2 separate regions of the Homo sapiens genome follow, and region 2 is linked to region 1. The links are contacts of gene promoters, found by promoter capture Hi-C in human tissues and cell types (Jung and others, 2019). All regions are on one chromosome and are shown on one strand. Each heading gives the region's core, a stretch centred on a gene start or on the middle of the fragment in contact. The rest is flanking DNA. Distances are from core to core; before and after follow the strand shown.

Region 1 (7,252 bases), core at 1,588-4,087:
AATGATTAGTTGCCCAAGACTGCATGCAAAACAGGATTCTAACTCAACCACCTAGACTCTTCTGCCTAAACTAGGTCCCTTTATCTCTTATCTCCCAGTGGGACCACCTCAGTCAGGCTCTTGGGGAGAGGAAAGGGTAGTTGTTTCGATGTGGACTCTGGCACCAGACTACTCTGTTTAAACCTCGAAGTCTTACTTGCCAGCTGTGACCCTGGACAGGTTATTTATGTCTCTGAACCTCAGTTTTCTCATCTGTAAAATGAGGCTAAAATGGCAGTTTCAAGGTTGCTGCGAGGCATAAAAGAGTTACTATCTGTTAGGTGCTTACCATGGTCCGGGCACGTAGTAAACTTTCTATAAGCAGAAGCTATGAAGATCCTTTCCTGCTTCTGCATAAAGACAGCACTTTCTCAGCTCCTTCCTTGCGTCACTCCCTCTAGTCTTGGCAACTGCCCAGCCCTTTCTCACAATGGAAAGGGTTTTCTTTAGAAGCAGTAAGATTTCCATCACCACCAACAAAGCCTGAGAGACTGTGTCCTCAAGATGTTGAGAGCAGATTCAAGCATGCAGTAGGAGGCCTGGCCTCCAAAGTTCCACCTAACTCAGACTTTTGAGTTTTCTGATATTTCTCTGGGTTATGTCACCCTGAACATTTGTGGGGTTTTAGAAGAAATTTCTATGTGGTTTTCGACATGAATTGTTCTTGCCTGGAATGGGCTGGGAATAGTATTTCACAGGACAGAGAAAAATTTTCATTGAAAAATCGAAAACACTTGCAAGATAGCCTGGAGGCTGATGGGCCTCAAGAGGAGTGTCTGTGGCAAATCTGCACAGTGGACCCAGGGACACAAGGAGAGAGGAGCCAGGATGCAGCTGCGGTGGGTGGAAGGTAGATGGAGGCTGTGTGTGGAACTTTCTGTTCTCGCATTCAGCACTCTCTCCCCCATGAGAGTAAACACTTGTTGAAGACAGAGACTTAGAAATACTCATCTGTGTCCCCACACTAGCCTCTCTCTCAAGCACAGAAAAATAACTTGCTAAATGCCCACCGAGTGGATGAGCCCACGCTCTAGGCCTGGCTGAACCTCCTTGAGATTGAGGCCCTGAGGGAGCCATTTCACATCTCCCCTCCTGTTTCCTCTTCCAAGAGGGGGCCGGTAAAAATACCTACCTGCTGCACAGACCCCTTGTTGCAGGGTTGAAAGACAGTAGCTTCAGGGAGGTGTCAGCTGAGGCCACGGATCCGACGGCCCCAGGATCCTCAGTCCATGGGGCCCAAGAGTCATAAAACAAGAACATGAATCCATCTGTCTGTCTGGTATTCCTGGAGCTTGGTCACGCTGCGGGAGCTCTGGCTTGCAGCTGGCAGGGCCCGGGGTTGAAGGGACAGCTCCCAGCATGGAAGGCTATGGGTGGGGGGACATTGCAAGAAGCACTGATGCTCCCCTCTGCAGTCCCCACCCAGTCCTGACTTTGCTTGTCTAGACTGGCTCGAGGAGGGGGTCGGCAGCTGGCGATTCTGCCTCTCCAGGAAGTGCAGCTGGGACTGTAGGGTCCCCAGGGACTTGCAGGATCCTCTGCCTGATAATCGTGGAGAAATAAGGGAAGGTGTCTATAGGAGGCAGGTGGTGCCTGGCCTTAGAGGAGAGCCCCAGCAGAGCGACCTCCACGACAGAGAAACCCCAGAACGCCCAGACTGCAAGCTCCAGGAGCAACAAAAGTGGACTGTGCCCCTCGAATGAGGGAATATCTGTCTGTCTGGTTGACTGCCAGCTGTGTGTGTGTGGTCATCTCTGTCTCTGTGTGTCTTTCTCTGGAGCGTTTTTATTTAAGCTTTTGACTTCCTTTATTACTGGTGTGGACTTGTGTGTGGGCATCCTGTTGCCAGTTTATGATGCACATGTGTGGAATCGCCCTGAGCTTGCCTTTGATATTGGTGTGTTGTGTGGTGTCATTGGCGTGCACGTGTATGTGTGTGTCGCTGATTCTCATGCAAGAATGTGCTTCTCTTATGTGTCTGTCGGAGTGTGCCTCTAGCATGTCCCTCTTGGCTGCTGCACCACCTTTCCTGGCCCTTACCACCTCTTGGCCCACCATATGGGTGCTTTTGTATCCAATTCCCCTCCTTAGCAGGTCAGCTCCTGGAGGGCAGGCACTTGGTCTCTTTTGTCCATGGCTCTGTTCCCAGCTCCTACAACAGTGCTAGGCACTAGTGGGCGCTCAGCAAAATAAAACTGACGGAATGAACGGTGTGTCCAACGCATGTGCCTCTCCAGTTGTGCAATTAATCTTGGTGTGATACTGTGTGTGAGTGGGGTTGTGAGACAATGAGGATTTCTGTTGTGTGTTTGTAATGAACTCGGAATGTGCACAAGCATATATGTGTATGTGTGTGCAACATTGAGTATGGTGTGCATGATCGAGCCCCTGTGTATCTCTGGAGAGCATGTGTGATTGACTCTCGTGTGTGTGCCAGCATGTCTGTGCATCTCTCATGTGTTTGGCGTAATTGTCTGGTGTGCAGGTATGAACCCGCGTGTGCCTCCAGAGCGTGTGGGCGCGCGAGTGTACGCACACGGCTCCTGCCCCGCGCTCTCCTCGCGCCCTGCGCTCCGCCTGGGGGCGGAGAGTGGGGGGTGCGGCGAGGGCACTGCGGTGCCGCGGCCCGCCCTCCGCGCTGCGGCTCGGGAGCGTCACCGTCCCTCCCCGCCCCAGCCGCGATCCCCGCCTCCTGGTCCTTTGTAGCTGGCCGCGCCGCTAGCCCGCAGCCGCCCAGAGGCCCCGCCCCGGCCCCGCCCCGGCGCGCGCCACGCCCCGCCCCTCCCCTCCCTGGGCCGCAGTCGCGCCCGGGCCGCCGCAGGCCCGCACCGAGGCGCGGAGCGCGGCGCACGGCGGTGCCCAGGGCCGCGGGCGGGCAGGCGGGAGCGCGGTGGGTGGCCGGCCTTGGACGGGTATGGCGGACCGGCGGCGCGCGTGGAACACCGAGGACGACCTGCCCGTGTACCTGGCGCGGCCGGGCAGCGCGGCGCAGACCCCGCGCCAGAAGTACGGCGGCATGTTCGCCGCGGTGGAGGGCGCCTACGAGAACAAGACCATCGACTTCGACGCCTACAGTGTGGGCCGCCGCGGCTCGGCGCGCACGCCGCGCAGCGCTGGCCGGCCCGACGCGGTCGGGCTGCCAGGGCCGGGAGGCAGCGAGGACACGGCCAGCGACGTGAGCGAGCCCTCGGGCTCCGCGGTCAGCTCTCCCGGAGAGCGCGACGAGCGGCCGCCGACGCTGCGCATCCGCCGCCCCGCGCCCCGCGACCTGCCCCTCGGCCGGGACAATGGCCAGGTACCCTCGGGGCGCGCGCGGGCCAGACGAGGGGGGCGGGCCCCGGGAGGACCCAGGGCATGGGGCGCCCGAGGGCCATGCCCGGGCCCCGGTGTTGGGGCAGCGGCCGCCAGGCTGGGGAGAGCCACGGCGCGGCCCCTCCCCCACCTCATCATGCAAGAGGTTCCCAGAGCTGGGGCGACTCGGTCGGGGCTGGCCGGCGTGGTCCGTGAGACTCGGAAGGGATCGCCCGGGTCCAGTCCCGGCTCCTCTTCTACAGAAAGGGAGAGAGGTTCTGAGAGGGGAAGTTGGCTAAAGCTACCGCATGGACGCTTAAACGCGAAGGAACCTCTGGGATGAATCTAACCCAGGCCCCTCATTCTGTTTTGTGAAAAGAACTGGAGCTCCGTTCCGTGTTGGTCCATTCATCCATCCACTCAGTCGGTAGTAATTATAGAGCACCTACTGTGTGCCGGGCCCCGGGAGAGGTTCCGCGAGTCGCCTGCGGCCACACAGCTTAAAGCTGGAAGGAGCTTTTTTTCCGAGCGCTCCCCTCATGCTTGCTGGGGGGAAGGATTTGGTTAAGGATTTAGTTCGTCGGGCAGTTGGAGCCGTAAACCCCTACCCTCAAGCGCCAGTAGATTCAAGGGGCACTCCTGAGCTCCACAGCACACACCGATGTGCCTGCTTCACAGAGCAAGGTGGAGGTAGAGCTGGGATTTGAACTGGGGTCTCTGGCCTCCCGGACCTGAGCATGGGGCCGGGAGGATCAGGGAGAGGGAACGCTAGGGCTTGGGCCCTGCGGGTATTCTCTCTTGAGCTGGGGGTCACCAGGAAACTGGGGGAAGAAGGGCGGATGGACGGCGTAGCCTTTGGATGGACCGACGAGAGCCAGGGTCAGGTGCCAGAAAAACGGAAGTTGGAGCATCCGAGGGCTGGGGAGCTTTCGAATTGGTCCAGACCTGGATGCCGGAGAACTGCTAGGTGCCAGGCCCAGGGTAGGCGCTAGGTCCCTGGCTCAGCAACCTGGCCCCACCCTCCAGAAGTTCCCAGGCTAGGGTGAGCGACGGATTCATTGTGAGAATTAAATCAGTTAATGCCGGTCGGTAGTGAGCATTCAATAAATGTTTGTTGTTGACTTTTATTACAATCATTATCATTTTAATTAAACCTTCCCCTCTTAAATGCTATGAGTGACCCAAAGTGAGCCTGGAGGGAAGCAGAGCTTGATCGGGGCAGATATCTGGGAGGGCTTCCTGGAGGAATAGGAGCAGGGAACTGGTAAACACGGTGGTGGGCCTCTTCGGGCCCCATCCCTTCGCGGGCGGGCTGTTGCTCCAGAGCTCTCCGTGGTCCTGAAGCCGGAGCCTCGCGAGGGAGAGGTCCAACAGCAAGGGTGTGTGTGTGTGTGTGTGTGTGTGTGTGTGTGTGTGTATGTGTGTGTGGTGGTGGGGTGATCAGAAAGGGAGATGGTGCGAGAGTCCAGCTTCCTCTTCCCCCACCCCTTCTGTATCTCCCCCTGTCCACTACCTTCCCTGGTGGTCCGACCTCTCTTGGGATCCAAACTCCCGAGCCCGATGGGGAGGCTTCTGGGCCGCGGGCCGAGAAGCGGGACCAGCACCAGGGAATCCGGGTTTCCAGCCAAGGCGCTTTGCTCTCTTGGGCCTCAGCTTCTCCATCTGTCAGATGGGGGTGGCCGTCTTCTTCCGGCCTTCCTCAAAGCGTGGTGGAGTACTAGGGAGGCGAGGGCGCTTTGTGCACGGCCCGTAGCTGTCCCAAGGAGAGTTCCTCTGGAACTGCGGTCAATGTCACCAACGCCAGCATCTCCCCCAGGGCGCAGCCTGGGCCAGCCCCGCAGCTGCGCCCTGACCCTTGGGGACGCTGGTCGCTTCACCTCTCCCGTTCCTCTCCCCTACTCCTTCCTCTTCTCCCTGTGGTCCCCTCTGCCTTTCTCCATGGCTTCTCAGGCACCGGACAAAAGGCAGCGCCTCTGGCGCTCCCGGGGCTCCGAAAGCACTCGAGCTTCGCGACTGTGGAACTCAGGGGCTCGCGATCTCCACGGAGGGAGGGTTTTACTTTCTGCCGGCAGAGCGGCCTTGAGGCTTGGGTTACAGTGGGCTCGGGTTCCGGGGCGGGCCTCACCGCTCCAGGGCTTCGCAACGGGTGCCCCGGCCCTTCCCCCCCCGCCCACCAGGCTTCTCCCTGGGCTGCAGGAGGGGTTTCTGCGGCGCAGGCGCAAGGATTGCCGCTGCCGGAGGCTGAGCGGCTGCGGCGCTTTGTACCGGCGAAATCTGCTTGGGAGCAGCGATCTGTTTGGCCAGTGGCAGGCGGATGCTCCTCCCCCTGATACGCACGTGGTCTTGTCCCTTGCTGTAGGGGCTTTCTGCTCAGATCTCCAGACTGACCCCAGGGAACGCCCTGGTACGGGGAACCTAGGACTTAACAACTCCAAGGAAGGGAGTGTAGGAGTTGGGGAGGGACAGTGTCCCCATCTGCAATTTCCGGTCATTGACAGGGATTTTAGGCCCCGCTGAGAGCCAGGGATGCATGAATGCGTGGAGGGAAATGAGTTGTAAACAGAGTGTAGGGGAACCTGGCATCTCCATGCTGCTTTGCTGCAGCTAATATGTTTTGCACCCGGGGTACATCATTTTACCTCTGTAAGCCTCAATTTCCTGTCTGTAAAATGGGAAAATTATGCCTAGTGTTCCTGGGATACTGAGCTGGCTTCTCTGTGAAGCTAAAACCTCACCTCTATTTTAAGGCCCAGGTGTCTCTGGCCTCCTGCCCTGGATTAGGGGACTGGCCCCTGGGGTGGTGAAGGTCAGGGCCCCAGCCCCCAACCACAGTGCTGGGGGAGCTGTACCAAGCCTAGGCCACCCTCGCTCTGGATGGCAACTTGAAAGCAGAAAAGATGAGTAGTTTCATAGGACCTGTGGGGTTGGATTTCGCATGCAGAAAATGAACAACGAAGTGGTGGACAAGGTTGGTGTTTTATTCTGCCTGGGAACTTGGGGCACCTGTCCAGTGAGGTTGGGGCTTGCTGGGGCTCCCCCTTTTCCTCCATCTTCTTTCATCTTTTCCCCTCTGCTGTTACGGACCTTGTCAAGCTGTGACCTGGCTTCCTGCCCACCTCCCTCTGGAGCAACATCTGGATCATGGACTCCGGGGCTGGTGTCCACAGTGCTGGGAGGCAGGAGCACCCTAGTCCTCCTCCTGACCCCCAGCTTGTCCCCAGGGCTGTGGAGACCTTGGTGCCAGTGGCCCAGCCCTCCAAACACCTGCTGTCTTGGAGGCAATTCTGTGGGGTGACCTGGTGGCCCCAGTGTCAGGCTGCTGTGTGATGAGGGAGCTGCTGTTGGAGTAGAACAGGTCAGCATTAATTAAGGCCGTACCCTTCTGTCCCTGCTGTTCCCTCTGCCAGTTAGGGGGCTCCACCTTAGAGGCCCCCAGGGAGGGCTGGTTCAATGCTAGGATGGAGAGGGTGGCAGGGAGAGGCTTCGTGGTGGGGAAGGCATTGGAGATGGGTCTAGGGGAGTGGACAGGCTTTTGTCTGGGGTAGACTATTCAGGGAGAGGGTACAGCGTGAATAAAGGCTTGGGGTCCGAGATGGAAAAAGTGCTTGGTGCATTCAGGGAGAGGCACTCGGGAAGGATAAACGGAGGCTATGGAAGGAGAGGCAAGAGGGGAGCGGTCCTTGGGCGCGATCCTGGAGGGACAAGAACGTTCCCAGCAGCTTGGGCCGATCCTTGGCCCCCGTCCCACACTCCCTCCCCCCACACCCCCGCAGATGTTCCGGGGAGGCCTCCAGACGCGCGGCCACACACCTGTGGCGCCGCCCGCGGGCCCTGACCGCGCCGTCTTTTTCTTTTAAAGGAGCCCTGAAAACCATACTCTCTGGATCGCGAGAGCGAGGCCAGGGCCCGCCAAGGGCGTGTG
Region 2 (7,252 bases), core at 1,723-4,222, 42 kb after region 1:
AACTTTGTTGCTGCAAATGACACGATGTCCTTCTTTACTAAGGCATCCATTGTGTATGTTTACCACATTTATAAAATCCATTCATTCATTGATGGACACAGGTTGCTTCCTAATCTTGGCTGTTATAAACAATGCCTCAATGAACACGGGAGTGGGGATATCCCCTGGGTATTCTGATTTCAATTCCTTTGGATTTTCAGCCGGTAGTGGGACTGCTGAAGCATATGGTAATTCAGTTCTTAGTTTTGTGAGGAGCCTCCGTACTGTTCCCCATAGAGGTGGCTGTGCTAATTTACATTCCCACAAACGGTGCTCAGGAATTGCCTTTTCTCCACATCCTCATCAACACTTGCTATCTCTTAGATGCAGCTCTTTCTTTCTTTCCTTCTGATGGAGTCTTACTCTGTCACCCAGGCTGGAGTGCAATGGCGAGATCTCAGCTCACTGCCTCCCAGGTTAAAGTGATTCTTCCCCCTCAGCCTCCCAAGTAGCTTGGATTACAGGCACCTGCCACCACACCCGGCTAATTTTTGTATTTTTAGTAGAGACGGGGTATCACCATATTGGCCAGGCTGGTCCTGAACTCTTGACCTCAGGTGATCCACCTGCCTTGGCCTCCCAAATTGCTGGGATTACAGGCGTGAGCCACTGCTCCCACCTGTGTTTTTATTTTCTAATCAGCTTAAATGCTCTCAGCAATTCCACATTATCCCCAGAATAAATTGCAAGCTGTCTGCCTGGCTCATCAGGATGCGCCTGCTCCTCCAGACTGGCTTGTTCCAGTTCCTGGGGCCCAGAGCCCCAGCCCCCTGCACCTCCGTTTCCCATCTGCTCGAGGCTGCCTCTGGCTCTTGGGGCTGTGTGAGTGAGTACTGGCCCCTTCAGGAACAGTCTCCCTGCCTTTTCCTAGCGATTCTCCTGTTCGTGCTGAGCTGTACTCCCCTGGGAAGCCTTCCCTGAAGCCCCCTGACAGATGCAACCCCCCCATGCATCCCCCACATAGGGATCATCAGACTAAGTTGTCTTTGCCCATTGACTTGCTGATACTCCCACACCCCAGCCCAGATGGCGAGCCCCCTACGGGCAGGGACTTGTCGTCTTACTCACAGTTGCATGGCTGGGACCTGCACAGAGAGTTGCATCCAATATCAGTGGACCAGCTGATTGATTTCATGAAAGATGCCTTTAGTAACTTCTGTATCTCAAGTGCTTAGCACATGCCCAGCATACAGCAGGCTCTCAGTAAGTGTTTGTAACATGAATAAATAAGTTAGGAAAGGAAAAGAGGAGAGAAGCAGGGAGGGAGGGAAGAAAGGGAGGAGGAACACGCCTGGTTTCCTTGGTCCTGAAGCATTTTAGTGCGTCCTTCTCTAAGTCAGAAGGGCTTGCCCAGAAATCTTGCTATTTGTCATGAGTGTACTGTGCAGTCCAGTGCAGGGCATTTCCAGGATGGGAAACCAACACGTTTGGTGTAATGTCCTCTTTGCAGAAATGGGGAAAGTGAAACCCAGAGAGGTGCAGTAACGTCTCAAGTGCCACACAGCAACTGAGGCCTGAACTCAGCTCTCCCTGACGGAGCAGCTGTCACTGTTGATGTCTTTATGGGAATTGCAAACACAATTCTTTAAAGAAATGGGATAAAAAAGCACATGCTTTAGGACACTTTCTAGAAGCTGCATGACTAATGTCTTTTCATCTTCCGTATTGCAGATGCTCATCACACCCTTCCTTATCCTTACCACACCCCTCCCTCTCAGCCTGGGGAGTTTTCCTCCTCCTCCTCGTCCTCTTTCTCCTCCTCTTCCTCTTCCTCCTCCTCTTCCTCTTCCTCCTTCTTCTCCCTTTCTCCTCCTCTTCCTCCTCTTCCTCTTCTCCTTCTCTTTCTCCTTTTTCTTCCTCCTCCTCTTCCTCTTCCTCTTCCTCCTCCTGCTCCTCTTCCTCCTCCTCCTCCCCTTCTCCTTCTTTCTCCTCCTCTTCTTTTTCCTCCTCTTCCTCTTCCTCCTTGTCCTCTTTCTCCTCCTCTTCATCCTCCTCCTTCTCCTCTTCCTCCTCCTCCTCTTTCTCCTTCTCCTCCCCTTCCTCCTCCTTCTCCTCCCTTTCTCCTCCATCACCTTCAGATTCTGCTTAGGTGTGACCTTCCCTGGAAGCTTCCTTTGACCTTCGCCCACATCCTCAGGCTGGATAGGTGCCCCACTGGGGATCCCAATGGCACTCATCTCTCCTGGCGACTACCACTCTGCTCTGTGGTCATTGATTTATTGGAAAGACATGCTTCTGTTTTTTCTTAAACATATTTTTCTATCCTTTCTATCTTGAAACAGGCGTCAATTCCTTCCAAGTCTACATGGCCTATAAGGATGTCTACCAAATGTCCGACAGCCAGGTAGGTCCCTCACACTCACTCTCTCCTCTCTTGTCTGGGCAGGACTGGGCCAGCTTTGCCAGTCCAGGCAGCACAGGGCAAGGGAGATTGTGAGAAGCCGTGGGATTCGAGTCCTGGTTCTGGCATGGAATGGCTGTGTGATACGGTGTCAGTCATTGCCCCAGCTGGGCTTCTGTTCTTTTCTGACTGTGTGAGTGGCATGCAGAAGGGGTTCCCTGGTTTGGTGGCTCCCAAATCTGGCTTATCCTCAGCATCATCTGGAGAGCTCACTTGAAATACAGATTCTTAGTGCATGTTCCAGATGTTGGGTGTTGGACTCAGGAGCCTGTACTTCCCGAAAGCTCTGCGTTTGATCCTGGTATTCAGGCAAGGATGGGGACCATTTATGAGCTCTGACACAGGAAGAGAGACTGCCTGGCCTTCCCTCACAGCAACTGCAACATGCTGGGCAAGTCATCTCCTCACATTTGTAAGATGGAACATTTCTGGCCCTGCCAACAGCAAACAATTATTATGTACATGCACCAAGTCAAGGGATATGGAGCCGCAAGTTGTTCTTCAGGAGGAGTGGTTACGACTTACAGGACACCTGGCCTTCTTATACTACTGGGTCTCCTAGTTTTGTTTCATTGTCAGTTTCCCTTGCTCTGCTTGTTAGTGTGGTGGAGAAAATCATGGAGGCTACAGCCAAGCCAGGTGCTTGCTCTGCAGCCAGGGGCAGCTTTCCCAACTTCTCTGTGCTTTAGGCTCATGATAGCCCTACCTTATAGAGGCAGTTGAATGATTTCATAAGAAGAGTAAAGTGCTAGGATGGTGCCTAGCAGAGAATGGTGCCATACAGGCATCAGTTAGCAGGGTAATTGGTTATTACCATGAAGATAGATGGGCAACGGGAGAAGCACTTTATGTCCTTCCTTTCAGATAAACACTTGGGGTTACAGAAAATAACTTATCCCAAGATGTCCTGGAGGCCTTTGATACAGTCAACAAAAGACACTCAAAGAGCTGAAAATTGGTTCAGTTACATAGAAAACATAGCATGTGATGTGCTGGCATAATTGTGATTTTCACCTGTTTCATTCTAACTACTGGAGCCATGGGCATGGATGGAATCGAGCAGCCTCTGCGTGCAGGTTCTCAAAAGTGCTTCATGCCTCCACATGCCTTCCCTATTTGCTGAAATAGGGATGTCTGTCGGAAAGCAGACATCCGAGGGGATGTTGTCTTGCATGCATGGAGAACAAAGTTGAGGTTCAAGTGTCCCTGGAGAGGGAGCTTCGTGGCTTTGGCCCTTACCAGGGGCAATGCCCAAATGCAGATTCTCCTCAGGTAGGAAGAGAACACTGGGCAGTGGGGAGGGCCTGTTTTGTCTAATTGAGAGGATGGTTGGCATGCTATATATTTTCTGAGTATTGGAGTTATTAGAGAGCTGGTTTCCCCCACCCCACCATTGTCCATAAAATGGCATGGGTTCATATTTTTGTAAGGATGCACACATATTCTGTGGCATGTAGGTGGCTATGGTACAGGCTTAGCAGATTTAGTTAGATAATTTCTGTAAAACTAACAGTGACTTCTCAGGACCAGTTGCTGCCATTAACACCTACAGGTGTTTCAAAAAAGCCAACCCAAAAAGACAGCAAAAGGCATAGATAGGCACTGAGATTGAGTCTGTCTTCATGCCCTGGGGTGACTTGGACCAGTTGTGCCCCATCCTCAGCTTCCTGCTTTTGGGTCTGCAAGATGTCAGGGTCAAGGAATGATCCTTCCAAGTCTGACTTGTGTAGCAGCGTATTCCATCCACATGAATGTGTTTGCAGAGGCTGGCAGGTGAATGACCGAATGGGTGTGATCGGAACGGTCTTCATGAATGCACACGCTGTGATTTTTTTTTTTTTTTAAATCTCACACCAACCCCTGTTTATCTCTCCATAGCTCTATGAAGCCTTTACCTTCCTTAAGGGCCTGGGAGCTGTGATCTTGGTCCATGCAGAAAATGGAGATTTGATAGCTCAGGTGAGTGGCAAGAATTTCCACTCCTTCTACCTCAGTCTGATTCTCCTTGTTGCAAAAGGTTTGATAAAAGAGCATTGGTTAGTGAGGAGGCTGTACAATGAAAGGTCAAGCCAGGAACTGGGTGTCATATCAGACACATCAGATATGAATGAAAATGCTTTGCAAACCTAGGTCATACCAGTGGCAATGCACATGGAAGCTGGTGTTCCTCATTGTCTTCAGGAATTGGGAGTGGGCATCATGGAAAAGCCCAGGCTTGGAGGAGGTGTTCCATGCCAGTCTCCTCCATCTCCTAGCCATGTGACCTTGGGCAAGGAACTTTTTCCCATGAACACTCTTATTTTTCTTCCAGAAACAACCACCTGGCAGTGTTATTGTGTGGATCAAATGATATTATGTGCCATGGCTTGAATGTGTCCTTCAAAAGTTCATATGTTGAAAACTTAATGCACAAGCTAGTATGTTGATGGTATTTGGAGGTGAGGCCTTAGGGAGGTAATTTGGATTAGATGAGATCATCAGGGTGGGGGCCTTATGACGGGATTAGTGGCTTTATAAGGAGAAGAAGAGAGGCCTGAGCTGGCATGCACCTGCTGTCTCATGTGATGCCCACCGCCATGCTATGATGCAGCAAGAAGGCCCTCACCAGATGCTGGCACCTTGTTATTAGATTTCCCAGCCTCCAGAACCATGGGAAATACACTTATTTTCTGTAAAATTACCAAGTCTATGGTATTCTGTAATAGCATCAGAAAACAGAGTAAGACATCGTGTATGTGAGGTTCAGAATCTGACACATAATGGACTGCAGCCATGCAAAAGTTTTGGATAAAATGAGACATGAACATATTTTGATAATTCTAGCTGTGGAGTGGAGAATTTGTTGGGAAAAGAATGAAAGCTGGGAGTTGTGGCTCACGCCTGTAATACCAGCACTTTGAGAGGCCGAGGTGGGCTGATCACTTGAGGCCAAGAGTGTGAGACCAGCCTGGCCAACATGGCAAAACCCCATCTCTACTAAAAAATACAAAAATTAGCTGGGTGTGGTGGAGCACACCTGTAATCCCAGCTATTACAGGTGGGAATACAGGTATTACAGGTGAGAATACAGCCATTATCAGGTGTGAGGCTGAGGCAGAGAATTGCTTGAACCTGGAAGGTGGAGCTTGCAGTGAGCTGAGATCACGCCACTGCACTCCAGCCTGGGCAACAGAGTGAGACTCTGTCTCAAAAAAAAAAAAAAATGAAGTCAGGGTGACTAGCTAGGTTCTATTTCAGCAAGTCTCATAAGAAATGAAGAGAGGAGATAGGAGATGGAAGAGGTGAGCATGACAGGAGGGAAACACAATCTACAGGACCCATGGACGGATTGGGTGGAGGAAGAAGAGAAAGAAGTCAGGCAGGCTCCTGGGTCTCTGGTGCAGAGGCATGGATTGGTTATAATGTTGTAAATCAAGCCAGGCTTATAGGGGAAGGTTTGGATGCAGCCAGTAAAGGTAGTTAATGCCAGACATGATGCAAAGGACTTCACATATTGATACTCACAACTACTCCGTGAGGTAGATATAATTATTCCCATTTTATAGATAGGGAAACTGAAGCTCAGATATGAATAAGTTGCTCACTGTTGCTCATGGGGCAGTAGAGTTAGGATGTTAACCAGTTCCCTCTAGTTCCAGAGCGCAGTGGAAGAGCAACATGATGGTTCAGTGCTGGAGATCTAAAGCTTCACCATTAAGGTTCATTGACTTCACTTCTTCTTATCTGAGTCCTTGTAGTTTTCCTGCACAATTGAAATTCTTTCAAATTCAATGTAAAAAACCAACAGTGCCTTAGTTCCATCATGCAAGAGTATTCTGTTCATTGCTAACAGGTCACTGCATCCAGCCCACACTCAAAAAGAAGGGATTATACAAGGGCAGGAATGTCAGGAAGTGAGAATTATTAGGGCCACATCTGAGACTTCCTCCCAATCTGTCTTCTGGCCCCCATGATTGATGTTCCTCTCCCATGCAAATTACAATCACCCCTTCCCATGGTTCTCCAAAATCTCATAACAGCATTAGTTCACAGTCTGGAATCTCATCATCCAAACCAGGTCCAGGTGTGGATGAGGCTCCTTGGCTGTATTTCCCATAATCTGTAGGTCTATGAAGCTAAAGAAGGAAGATATCTCCCTGACCCTCCTGATATACAACATGCAGTGGTGGACCTGACATTCCTATTCAAAAAGGGAAAAATAGAAGGCACCAAGGAGTTATTGGTTCATGGCGGTTCTGAAATCTGGCTGGGAAATGTTGGCAGTTCCTTGACTGGGTTTCAAAGCCTGAGAATAAGTCTCCATAGCTCTTGGCTCTACCTTCTGAGCTCCTGCTTCCATCCTCTGAGTCATCCATCCTTTTTCGTGAAAGGTAGTACATGTCTGCAGCTGAGTGGTTTTCTCAGCCTGCTTCTTGCTCAGTAGAATTTCAGGGATCAGCCAGGCACGGTGGCTCATGCCTGTAATCCCAGCAATTTGGGAGGCCAAGGCGGGCAGATCACCTGAGGTCAGAAGTTTGAGACCAGCCTGGCCAACATGGCGAAACACTGCCTCTACTAAAAAAAAAAAAAAAAAAAAAAAAAAAAAAAAAAAAATTAGCCGGGCATGGTGGCGGGTGCCTGTAATCCTAGCTACTTGGGAGGTTGAGGCAGGAGAATTGCTTGAATGTGGGAGGTGGAGGTTGCAGTGAGATGAGATCACGCCACTACACTCCAGCCTGGGTGACAGTGAGACCCCGTCTTAAAAAAAAAAAGAATTTTGGGGATCCAACTGCTTCTTTTCACATCACATGCCTGTGTTCAGTCTCAGCTTCC

What was found. The method cuts DNA at HindIII sites, captures the fragments that hold promoters and counts their contacts. A contact is called where the count stands out against the background at its distance.
Region 2: a fragment that was not itself captured here is called in contact with the fragment with the promoter of CRMP1 in region 1 in 4 of the 25 tissues and cell types used here (esophagus, mesendoderm cells, pancreas and 1 more).

The regions. Positions count from the first base shown.
Region 1 is chr4:5,888,671-5,895,922 of GRCh38, reverse strand. CRMP1 (collapsin response mediator protein 1) reads left to right here and starts at 2,837. Exons shown (of 14, transcript NM_001014809.3): 1 at 2,837-3,334. The coding sequence starts at 2,954. RefSeq lists enhancers at 4,232-4,975, 4,976-5,720. The HindIII fragment of the contact is 12,427 bases long and covers 1-7,252 here.
Region 2 is chr4:5,846,539-5,853,790 of GRCh38, reverse strand. CRMP1 (collapsin response mediator protein 1) reads left to right here. Exons shown (of 14, transcript NM_001014809.3): 5 at 2,322-2,383; 6 at 4,319-4,399. Among named protein-coding and RNA genes, the nearest start is that of CRMP1, 43 kb to the left of the region's middle. The HindIII fragment of the contact is 7,580 bases long and covers 1-6,762 here.